Regions from separate parts of the Homo sapiens genome. Here region 1 is linked to region 2. The links are contacts of gene promoters, found by promoter capture Hi-C in human tissues and cell types (Jung and others, 2019). All regions are on one chromosome and are shown on one strand. Each heading gives the region's core, a stretch centred on a gene start or on the middle of the fragment in contact. The rest is flanking DNA. Distances are from core to core; before and after follow the strand shown.

What was found. Contacts are between HindIII fragments. The study calls those that stand out against the background at their distance.
Region 1: a contact is called between a fragment that was not itself captured here and the fragment with the promoter of TSNAX-DISC1 in region 2, in 1 of the 25 tissues and cell types used here (hippocampus).

The regions. Positions count from the first base shown.
Region 1 is chr1:232,618,965-232,624,616 of GRCh38, reverse strand. All of the region lies in intron 1 of SIPA1L2 (signal induced proliferation associated 1 like 2), which reads left to right. Among named protein-coding and RNA genes, the nearest start is that of SIPA1L2, 8.3 kb to the left of the region's middle. The HindIII fragment of the contact is 3,951 bases long and covers 754-4,704 here.
Region 2 is chr1:231,524,509-231,530,102 of GRCh38, reverse strand. It overlaps TSNAX-DISC1 (TSNAX-DISC1 readthrough (NMD candidate)), which reads right to left and starts at 1,450. Exons shown (of 16, transcript NR_028393.1): 1 at 1,277-1,450; 2 at 744-848. TSNAX (translin associated factor X) reads right to left here and starts at 1,434. Exons shown (of 6, transcript NM_005999.3): 1 at 1,277-1,434; 2 at 744-848. The coding sequence starts at 1,292. It overlaps TSNAX-DT (TSNAX divergent transcript), which reads left to right and starts at 1,547. Exons shown (of 3, transcript NR_173106.1): 1 at 1,547-1,683; 2 at 2,688-2,765. RefSeq lists enhancers at 678-1,877, 1,346-2,167 and a silencer at 3,846-4,140. The HindIII fragment of the contact is 13,165 bases long and covers 1-5,594 here.

The DNA.
Region 1 (5,652 bases), core at 1,480-3,979, 1.1 Mb before region 2:
ACTCTTAAGTAAAAATATCTAGGTAAAGAGCCAGTGTTAAAAATTGTTATTGTGGAAAGTAAGAACTCCTGGGTGAATAAAAGATTATGTCTGCTGAGATGAACTATTGTGTGGAGTTTTAAAAGAAAGTTCTGGTTAATGCTTAAGACATAGTGTCCTGTGAAGTCAGCATAACTACTTTCACTGTCTTCTGGAGGTGGTTTTGATAACACATTTGGTTCCTTGTTGAACAGTGGGTATTCACATTGTTCAGGAATAGCTTTGGGATACTGTCCTCTCCGTATTGAAGTTTCTAATAAGTAATTTTAGGAATTATAGTTTTGATTCTTTGTACAGGGCAAATGCTACCTGTTTCAGGTGTTTAAATGGCCTAATGCAAGAAACAGTGGTTTCTTTTTAGCAGGTTCTCAAGGTTCTCAAACTTTTTTCAACGTGCATCCCATCTATACACAATTGTCTAAGTGTTCATGTATGTATGCGTATACATGTATACATATCTGCATGCACGTTTGTGTGTGTGTATATGTATAATATATCTGTATGTATAAACATATACTTTACTGTGCTAAGATATTATGGACATAAAACAAATGTACATTTTAAGAAGATTAATATTAAAAATAAATAGATGTAGAAGTATTTTCTCTGCATCTCAAGGGCATTTGTATCTTTGAAATGTGTGGCCCCTGTGTAGAGACCACTGTTGTACTATCACTGGTTAGAGTTTATAGCAGTTGAGAAATGGAATTTCTAGGGAGCCTGTAGGGTCTTGTGAGGCAAGCGGAAGACAAACTCCACTCTTGATGGGCCTTATATTTACTGTGTATTTATTCTTTTTCCCGAAGACATTTCTGACTTTGGCCTGTTTTCTTCCAGAATTGCTTGTGGGTCTTGGTTTGGGGTTTCATTTATTGAGGGGTAGGAGGTTAATGTAATGGCGATGCTATTCTCCTTAGAAAGTTTCTAATTGAACTCAGCTGTTTTTTTGTTTTGTTTTGTTTTGTTTTTTGAGACAGAGTCTCGCACTGTCACCCAGGCTGGAGTGCAGTGGTGCGATCTTGGCTCACTGCAAGCTCTGCCTCCTGGGTTGCTGCCATTCTCCTGCCTCAGCCTCCCAAGAAGCTGGGACTACAGGTGCCTGCCACCATGCCTAGCTAATTTTTTTTTGTATTTTTAGTAGAGACGGAGTTTCACCATGTTAGCCAGGATGGTCTCGATCTCCTGACCTCGTGATCTGCCCGCCTCGGCCTCCCAGAGTGCTGGGATTACAGGCGTGAGCCACTGTGCCTGTTCTGAACTCAGCTGTTTAAGAAGCATCATACTATCACACTCAGACGAAAGCATTCCCAGGATCAGGGTATGTTAAAAGTTCAGATTGACAGCCTAGCTCTGTCTGTATGTGATTGGCCAGAACTGTAGCACACAGCCACCCGTAGTGCAAGGAATGCCTGGCTTCCCAGCCGTTAGTGGGTTGGGAATGAGTGAGGAGAGACAGCAGGGAGCCCTGCTCTTGTATCTCCAGTAACTTCCAGCTAAACGAGCACCATCCACCCCCACCCATCCTCCTGTTCGATTTTAATAATGGAACATAAGCAGCAAACAGGCAGGGACATTTCTGGTTTACTGCTGTATTCCCTGCACTTAGGTGGTTTTTGCCACATAATAGGCTCACAGTAAACAAATATTTGTTAAAGAAATGATTGGGAGTTGTGGGTTGAACGTAAAAGAACTTCCTTTATCTTGGCTTTTGTTGAACTAAATACTGTTGAGCAAGTTCTAATCATTATTTCTATTGTACATGATCTATCTTGAACAACAGTTTATACCTCATTTATGCCTTTCCTGGGTCGTTTGAAATGACCTGTGATTGAACTCTGATATGGAACTGGTAAAAATGTGGAAGTTTCTGAAGAGGGACTGTGTTCCATCTGTTACATCAAGAACTTTATAGCCCCATTCAGAGGGGTGTGGTTCCTGGGAGCCTGGGCACCCTTAGGTGGCCGCCTTTCATGAGAGAGTATGATTCACACCTTTCCCAGGTTTCAAAGTCTCATCTGTGCTGATGCCTGCATAGCCCTATTTGAATCCCATGAGGCTGCAGTTGACTTAAAAGCCCTGGCTGGGGCTTAATCAAGCTTACTGAACAGAAAGGATTTCTGAATTGTGTAGTACTGTCTGTAGTCCTTTAGCTCTCAGTCCATTAGCAGGGTTCATTTCTACAGGAAATCATGATGTTTAAAAACCCCATCAGTATTGTATAGTGCATCTTTTGTTGACTCAGTACATGAGGATATTATTTATGCCTTAAATGTGGTAGGTGCTCAGTAGCCATAGTCTTAATTTTATATGGTAAAAGTCTTTTATCTTTAATATCTTAACGTAGTGCTAGTTCTTATAATATGACATTAGAGGGATGTCATTCTAACTCCTATTTGTTTACATTTGTGTATAAGGTATGCTGTGATAAGTGCTGTAAGCAAGGCATACATGATAGTAGAAGCATCCAATTTATCAACCAATTTTATTTGAGGATCGTTGTAACTCATTTGTTTGGAATAATAGGTCATTTTTCCCATTTAAAATGTTTTAATTTGGGCATAGTGGCTCATGCCTGTAATCCCAGTGCTTTGGGAGGCTGAGGCAAGGATTGCTTGAGCCCAGGAGTTTGAGACTAGCCTGGACTGCAAAGCAAGGCCCCATCTCTACAGAAAATTTTAAAATGAGCCGAGTGTGGTGGTGCACACCTGTCGACCTAGCCACTGGGGAGGCTGAGGAGGGCCGATCCCTTGAGCCCAGGCGTTCGAGGTTACGGTGGGCTGATCGTGCCAGTGGACCCCAACCTGTGTGACAGAGTGAGACCCTGTCACAAAAAAAAAAAAATGTTTTAAATGACAAGAATAAGTGAAGGAGACTAATGTTGATTTATGAAGAGAATAAAGAATTGGGGAGAGATATTCTTAAAGGCGAGTGTAAAATGTTACCGTGCTTGAACTTTCATTTGTGTTCTCTCATGTATACTTAACGAGAACCTTATAAGGCTGGTGGGATTTTTTTCCCTTTTACAGATACAAAAACTAAGGTTTAATGAAAGTGTGGTTTTCTGAATCTGAGTCCTTATGTTTTAAACCCATTTCTCTTGGTTCCAGCTATAGTGTTCTTTATTCTACAGCTCACTTGTAAGGTATGGTAGGTTTCAATAAATCATGATGAAAGGAAAGAATGAAAAGACAGAAAGGAAGAAGGGAGAGAGGGAGGGAACTAAAGAAGGTGTGTGCATATAAGAATGGCGGAATTACCGACTCACTATCACTGAAAGGGGGAAGTGGAGGCTGAGGGTTGGGCTAATGAGCTCATTGTTCTGGTCTAAAAACTGCCCTGTTCTCTCAGCCAGTGAATTGTCTGTTATTAACTAGAAATTTTGTAATTTGTGGTGAGGTAGCAGTTTTACTGATTGAATCAGGTTATATATTCTTTGTTGGGAAGTGAGTGGGTCCTTCTGTGATCATGCAGAGAACATTTTTTTTAGCCCGAGTCTTTGCCAAGATTAAAAGAAATATAAGAGGAAAACAATTTTTGTTTTGCATTTATATTTTGCTAGATTTGCATAATCTTTGTTTAAGCCAGTTGAATGTGAATCCCTAAATACATTTCAGGCATTTAAATATTTAAAAGGATTCATCCACAGTACTTTACTCACCCAAAGAATAAGTGCTTACAACAAAGAAAATAACACCCTTGCAGATGTAGCCTATGTAGACTTTGTTCACCTTGTCATTGAATTATACAACATTAATAGAGAAGCTAGAATTTGAACATTCACTGAAATGCTTAGCTGGCTCTGTTCCAAAATATTGTTTCCCTGGTAGAGAAAGCAGGACAATTTGTTTAAAACTGGCAGTTTGCCAGTCAGAATAGCTCTGACGCAATCATTGCAGTAACTACTTTGCTCTGACTGCTAATTTTAGGGCAGTTAAATCTGGGTGATGTCTGATGGCTGCTGTCGCTGTGCGTCTGGTTATGTGAAGCTTTCTAAATTCATCCTCTTAGCTTGGCACCGTAACTTAGTTCTTTCTGAGATAAGCTGTGGAGCAGAGGGGATGTTGAGTCGGCACAGGATATGTGCATGGAATGAGGAACAAGGCCCTAGGAGAGTTTCAAGAGACACTGCTTTCATCTTACTACGCTCTTTGTTATTCCAATAGCAAAGGCTTAGCACATCTGTACTTCCCTTGCTGTAGCACCCTGGGAGGTGTTGAGGAAGGTGGAGAGAAGTGTACATCGAGACACCTACCTTCATGGAACAGGGTTCTGGCAATATGCACTTGCTTTCCTTGTCATCCCTGCAAGCATTAGTGTGTTTAAAAGTGAACTTTTATCTTCTTCCTTTTTGGAACAGGTAAAACTACGGAGAAAAATGGTAATTTAAAAAAATCTGGCCGGGCGTGGTGGCTCATGCCCATAATCCCAGCACTTTGGGAGGCTGAGGCGGGCGGATCATGAGTTCAGGAGTTCAAGACCAGCCTGACCAACATGGTGAAACCCCGTCTCTACTAAAAATACAAAAATTAGCCAGGCTTGGCAGCGCGTGCCTGTAATCCCAGCTACTCAGGAGGCTGAGGCGGGAGAAACGCTTGAACTCGGGAGGCGGAGGTTGCAGTGAGCTGAGATCGCGCCACTGCACTCCAGCCTGGTGAGAGAGCAAGACTCCATCTTAAAAAAAAAATCTATTTGGAGCATTTAAGAGCAGAGTAGAATATCCTGCTATTGCAGATGATACAAGTGGGATAAGGGGTTCTTCCATGGCCTTGTCTAACTCCCTCAGCTTTCTGGGGCAGTGACTATAATCCAATTTTAAAATAAGGATGTGGGACCATGCCATCTTGAAGTCTTTTTAAATGCTGGCATTCTAAGATTTCCAAGTTAACAGGGGCACCCTAGGGTGTGAGACCCCTGAGGACAGGGATCTTGTCCTTCCATCCCTTCCATCCCGTCCTGGGTAGCTGTCAGGCAGAGTCAGCAAATTAACTGACTCTTAGAATTTAGTCCTCGGAGGGACTTTGAGTGTTCTTCTAGTTAAACTTCCTGATGTTACTGATTCAGAACTATCAGAGGGCATGATTTAATCACTAGAGCTATTGTGTAGTAGCATGGGCTACCTTATTAGGTGATGAATGCACTGCCTTCTTAGGTGATGAACTAACTAACTTGGGCAGAGTTGATGGCTATGTGTCAGGTGTATTAGAAAAAGATTCCTGTGTAAATGAGACCATATGATAGATGGGCGCTACAGCTTCTTTCAGATGAAAGACTGTGTGGTTAGCTGAGAATAAGGTGGGTTTGCATGGTTAGGAAAACATTCAAGGAAGATAGAACTTGAGTTAAGCTTTGGAAAATGGTTAGGATTTGAGTTTTTGTTGAGGGCCTCTTGTGTGCAGGGAAACTGTAGGCCCTCTCCAAGACCAGAAGATACATACAGAACACTCTCAGTTGTTCCTTTGATCACAGTACTATCTCTATTAAAATGATCTGCTTAAATACAAACTCATCTTTTTGCCTGGTTTAGGTTTTGCAACTCCAGAGATGCATTTTATTAACAAAAGCAACATTAAGGAGAAGTGACGGACAGTATTTTCAAAGTGGTGATAATTACTT
Region 2 (5,594 bases), core at 201-2,700:
ACCAAAGGACATCCAAGCAGCACAAGAAGTTCATGTGGACAGGAACAGAGAGCTGGTTGCAGGCAAAAGGCCTAAACTATCAACAGCTGTAGATCCTTCAGCCCCAATCAAGGCTTCAGGTGATTGCAAATAGGAATCAACCAGCTAAGCCCTTCCCAGATTCCTTAATCACAGAAACGTAAGGTACAGGATAGTGGATAGACAGGGACAAAAGGAAGAGGATTTTGTTTTGTGTTTGTTTTGAATTGAGGAATAACTTGTCCAAGTTAATATGCTGAGAAAAGGGGACTGTGAAAATATGTGTATATAGATATGCGAGATTCACTAATAGATACAAGCTCCCACTCTGTGCTAAGTGTTACAGTTAAAACAAAGATACCGTCCCTGTCTTCAAGTCTAGTAGAGGAAACAAATACACACTAAATGAAAATATATTTTAGCATATAACAGATGAGTAAATATTATCAGGTACACAATTCTTGAGTATGTGACATGTCAAATATTAATTAATGTTTACTGTTTCTTGTGTTTAAGTCATGTTTACCTGATTACTAATATTTCTCTTAATGGGACATAAAAGTGAAGGCCTTTGTAATCCAGACTTTTAGGGTACATCTAGCGCCATCACAAAACCTCCAGCTAAAGTTTCACATTAAATTCTTAGGGACTGTTTTCTTGCGCATAACCATGGCTAAATAATTTTGTTCTCTCCCCTTCTTCAACTTACATTGCAGAGAACTTACATTTAAAGGCCAACATCACGGGTGAAGATGAATTAACATCCTTCCCTTCTCTTCTTTGGTTATGTGGGAAATTGTCATGCTTCCTTTTCCTGAACCCTCCTGATCCTTATATAGAGAAGAAAAAAAGAGAGGGATCTTCCATCACCAAGAGTTTGCAAAACACAACATAGACAAACCTACTCCTTGCTTTAAAACCAGATACCCACAGGGCCCTCGCCTTAGAGGCTTTCTCCGCAGACTGACAGAGACGCTGCCCAGGCCTTTCCAAGCAAATCATCCAAGTTTCCACCAACTGGTGCTATGATCTGGCATTACAGCAATTACTGAACTAGGATAAAATCACACCTCAAAAATTTAAGAAAAAAGGAGGTGTAAACAGGGCCGATCTGGCCGGGGAGAGAAACAGAGGGGCCGCCCCCGAGTCTACAAGGGACGAAGGCATCCTTCAAGGGTGAAAAGGGGAAAACTGCATAGAAAGACTGGAGAACCTCCCCCTCCGGATAAATAACGCCCCGTGTTGTTAAGGACGCCACCTTCTTTGTTGCTCATGTCGTCACAGCCTACGGTGAGACGAGCGGAGACTGAAGGACCTGGAGCAAGAGGAGTGCGCGAGGTACAGGCCGAGGGAACCTGGGAAAACAGCCTGCAGAAAAACGCTTTGCAGCCGGGCCGACTACAACGCAGTGGCCGGAAGTCTCCTCTCACGTACTTCCGGCCTGCGTCCGGAGGGGAGGGGAGGCCGTCGCCGCTGGCTCCGCCCACCGCGTGGTCCAAGGACCACCACCCGCCACCGCCGCGCGAGCGTACTATTGCGGCCGCCCTCTGCTGCGCCTGAAGAGAGAGGCGACTCTACAAGCCTCACAGCATGCACTGTTACTAAAAAGACGATGCGTCCTCCTGGACCTGAGATCTGTGTGATCGTGGGAAAGCGACGAAAAACGTACGTAATTTTTTTCTGAAGGCACCTTCGGGACACCTTACCCTTCCCTCAGGGGGGCCCAGCTTCGCGCGCGGTGCTGTGGGGGTTGTAGTTCCTCCGCCGGAGCGGGACCTCCGGTGCCCCGGGCCAGGGATGTGAGAAAGAAGCGAGCCCTCGAGTTTCCTCGGGGCATGTGGGAAGGTTTTTTTCAGGATCCAGGCAGAACCTTACAGAGCTGGGAGTTTTTTAACTTTCCATTCCTGGCAGTGACGCCAGGAGCTTTAAGTGATGGAAATATGCGAGTCAATCAGTGGATGGTGTTAGTACTGTTTTCTCTTATGAAGATCAAGCCTGCCCTTCGGGTCTACTTCCACCTTTTCCCCCTGCCCGTCTCCCACCGTCTCCCTCCTCTCCACTGGCTCTCAGAAGCCGGACAGCCTGTGTTCAACTTGCCTCCACGGAGTGGTTGTGTGACCTTGATGAAGCACGCAACTTCTCTGCCTCAGTTTCCTTATCTGTAACATAGGGATAGAATAGTACCCGCCTTGTAGGGTTATTTGAGGATGAAAGGAGTTAAGTCTCGTGAAAACGCTCTTTCACATATAACTGCTCAATTAAATATTAAATACCATACTCCTCTCCCACCAGGGCTCTCCCAAACAAAATGATAGACAGGTGAGTAATAGCAGCTGTGTTCCACTAAACTGTGGGCATTTCATTATGAGCAGGTGCTGCCACCATATCTAGACTTTGTGCCGCCCCTTAGCCCCAGTGCTTCTCAGCGCTGTGATCCGGTCCCATGTAAGCTTCCGTCAATGTTTGTTGAAGAATCATGTTCCTGGTGTCAGAATAGGTAACTAGATGGCAATTCAGCACCGTCTAGAGAGAAACTCAGGCCAAGGCTTCATAACTGGGGTGCCCTAGGCCTAGTACAGAAAACACAAGTACATTTTAAGCTTTCTCTAAATAACCTCTCTATTGTGGTCATGTGTTGAACACACAGTCTTTTCTCCTTGTTAATTTAGGAACAAAGGAACAGTAAATGGAGTAACTTGGCTAGAATATGGCAGTAACTACAAGGCATGTTCTGCTCTGGCACGAAGGTAACCACCACTCATACCTCTCCAGCCCTGTGAATACGTCAATTGACTAAGCAGATTCCTTGAGGATAAAGTAGGCTCCTGGGGACCTTGCTTGTTGGGCTACTTGCTTTGTGGATGTTAAACAGATAATTCTCATGAGTTTGAGTGACGTCTGATCTACCAGTATTCCCCCTACTCTGATTAGAAATGACTTGACCATGCCAAAAAGAATAAAAGACAGCTCTGATACAAATGTAGCCATTTTAATGTGACTCCCTCTAGATCCAAGGAAGCCAGTACTTACGAACATTTTCAGAGTCAATACTTACTGTACTGTACCATAGTCGAGGAAAAGGGTATTTTTCCTAACTCTCCTGGAGTAGCACATCCCAAGATCTCAACTTTCCAAAACCTGGATCAACTATATTTCTTTTCTTTCTCCAGCCACCACTCCCCTAGCCTGTTCAACTACAGCTATGTTACCTGAACTGCTTTCCACTCTTTCCCATAAATGTAATGATTAGAACACTAAGTTTCATAACCTGTAATGACTTCTGAAAGTATTTAAGGGAGGTGAATCCCAGGAGCACTTTCCCAGCACTTATTTGCATATGCATTTACCCCAGGCCTCCCCAGGTGTTCCAACTTGTAGCTACTCCTTTGTCAGGAAATAGATTTCAACTTCTGTAACAACCTGCATCCCTACCTGGTCTCCTTGTTTTATTGCTTCAGATGCAAACACATAGTTTTGGTACTTGGCAAAACAGTTTTTTGTTTGTTTTTTAAAGGAAGACAACCACCCCAAGTCAGGGAGAGGAAGGTAAAGATTTTTAGTAGGATCTTACCTCTGATGTTGTTTTTACTTGTTATTGTTGCTTTTTTTTTTTTTTTTTTTTGACACGGTTTCACTGTCACCCAGGCTGCAGTCCACGGCTCACTCACTACAGCCTCGACCTCCTCGGGCTCAAGTGATCCTCCCACCTCAGCCTCCCAGGTTGTTGGGACTACAGGCACATGCTACTATGCACGGCTAATTTTTTTTTTCTCTCCATTTTGTGGAGACGGGGTTTCGCCATGTTGCCCAGGCTGGTCTCAAACTCCTGGGCTCAAGTGATCCACCTGCCTAGGCCTCCCAAAGTGCTGGGATTACAGTGAGCCACTGTGCCTGGCCCCCTGTTGCATTCTAATTGCCTATATTTGACTCTGAATGAAGCACTAAGCCTTTCAATTGCATGGTGGTTATTCAGTTCATAAATCCTCTCATTGGTCACCATTAGATTAAGAGAAAAATCGCATATCAAAACTGGTTTGGGAGGCCAAGGCGCGCAGATCATTTGAGGTCAGGAGTTCGAGACCAGCCTGGCCAACATGGTGAAACAGTCTCTACTAAAAAATACAAAAATTATCTGGGTGTGGTGGCACGCACCTGTAATCCCCAGAGGCTAAGGCAGAAGAATCTCTTGAACCCAGGGCGGGAGTTTGCAGTAAGCCAAGATAGCGCCACTGACCTCCAGCCTGGGCCACAGAACAAGACTTCACCTCAAAACAAAAACAAAAACAAACAAAAAAAACTGGTTTTGGATATTGAAGGAAAATCATATAATCCAGTAAAGAGAAGATAATTAACAGATTATCTATTTCAGCATTTCCCTTATTTAGTTATTACATAAATAACTAAATCCTGGGGTAGAAGAGATCATGGGGAATTGTAAGAATCTGGAGTTTCTGTTTTTTAAAAGATAACCATAATATTTAAAAGATATCTGTGGGATCCAGAGTGGTATTGTGAAGTGTACACATTACCTTTATTGTGAATAAATTCAAAGATTTATTTTTCAAGCAATGCTAGGATGTAGTAGGAGAAAATGATGTTCCAGTTTTATAACACAAGAAAGAGAAGCTCATATTGAAGAAGTAAAGAGTGATGGGTAAAACCACAATGAGATATCACTTCAAATCCACTAGGATGACTAAATTTAAAAAGAAGACAGAAAATAATAATTGGTGAAGATATGAAGAAATTGGAACCCTGATCAATTGCTGGTAGGAATGTAAAATGGTCCAGCCACTATAGGAGACAATTTGGCAGTTCCTCAAAGAGTTGGACATAGAATTACCATATGACCCAGCAATTCCACTGTTAACTATATACCTTGAACACAAATGTTCATAGCAGCACTACTCACAATAACCAAAAAGTAGAAATAACCCAAATGTCTATCAGTAGATAAATGGATAAACAAAATGATATATCATTTGGCAATAAAAAGGAATGAAGTACTATTCATGCTGCAACATGGATGAAACTTAAAAACATTATGCAGAGTGAAAGGAGTCAGTCACAAAAGACCACTTATTATATGATTCCATTTATATAAAATGTCCAAAATAGGCAAATCTATAGATAGAAAGTAGATTCAAGGTTGCCTAGGGCTAGGGGCCATGTAACAGTGAGGTGGAGGGGTGATAGCTAAAGGATGTAGGGTTTCTTTGTGAGGAGACGGAAATGTTCTAAAATTGACTAGGGTGATGGTTTCACCTATTTGTGAATATACTAAAAATTATTGAATCAGTCAGTTTAAATGATGAGTTACATGTGAATTATACTTCAATGAAGCTATTAAAACAAATTTTTAAAAGTGTTGGGAAACATTCCTTTCAAGTCTTGTAAATATATTGTGTATATATATATATGTAAATTTACTATATACATGTAAATATATAGATAATTCAATGTTATTAGGAAAAAGCATTAAACAATATGGCTTAAGTTTATTTTTATTTTTATTTTTATTTATTTATTTTTTTGAGATGCAGTCTCGCTCTGTCACCCAGGCTGGAGTGCAATGG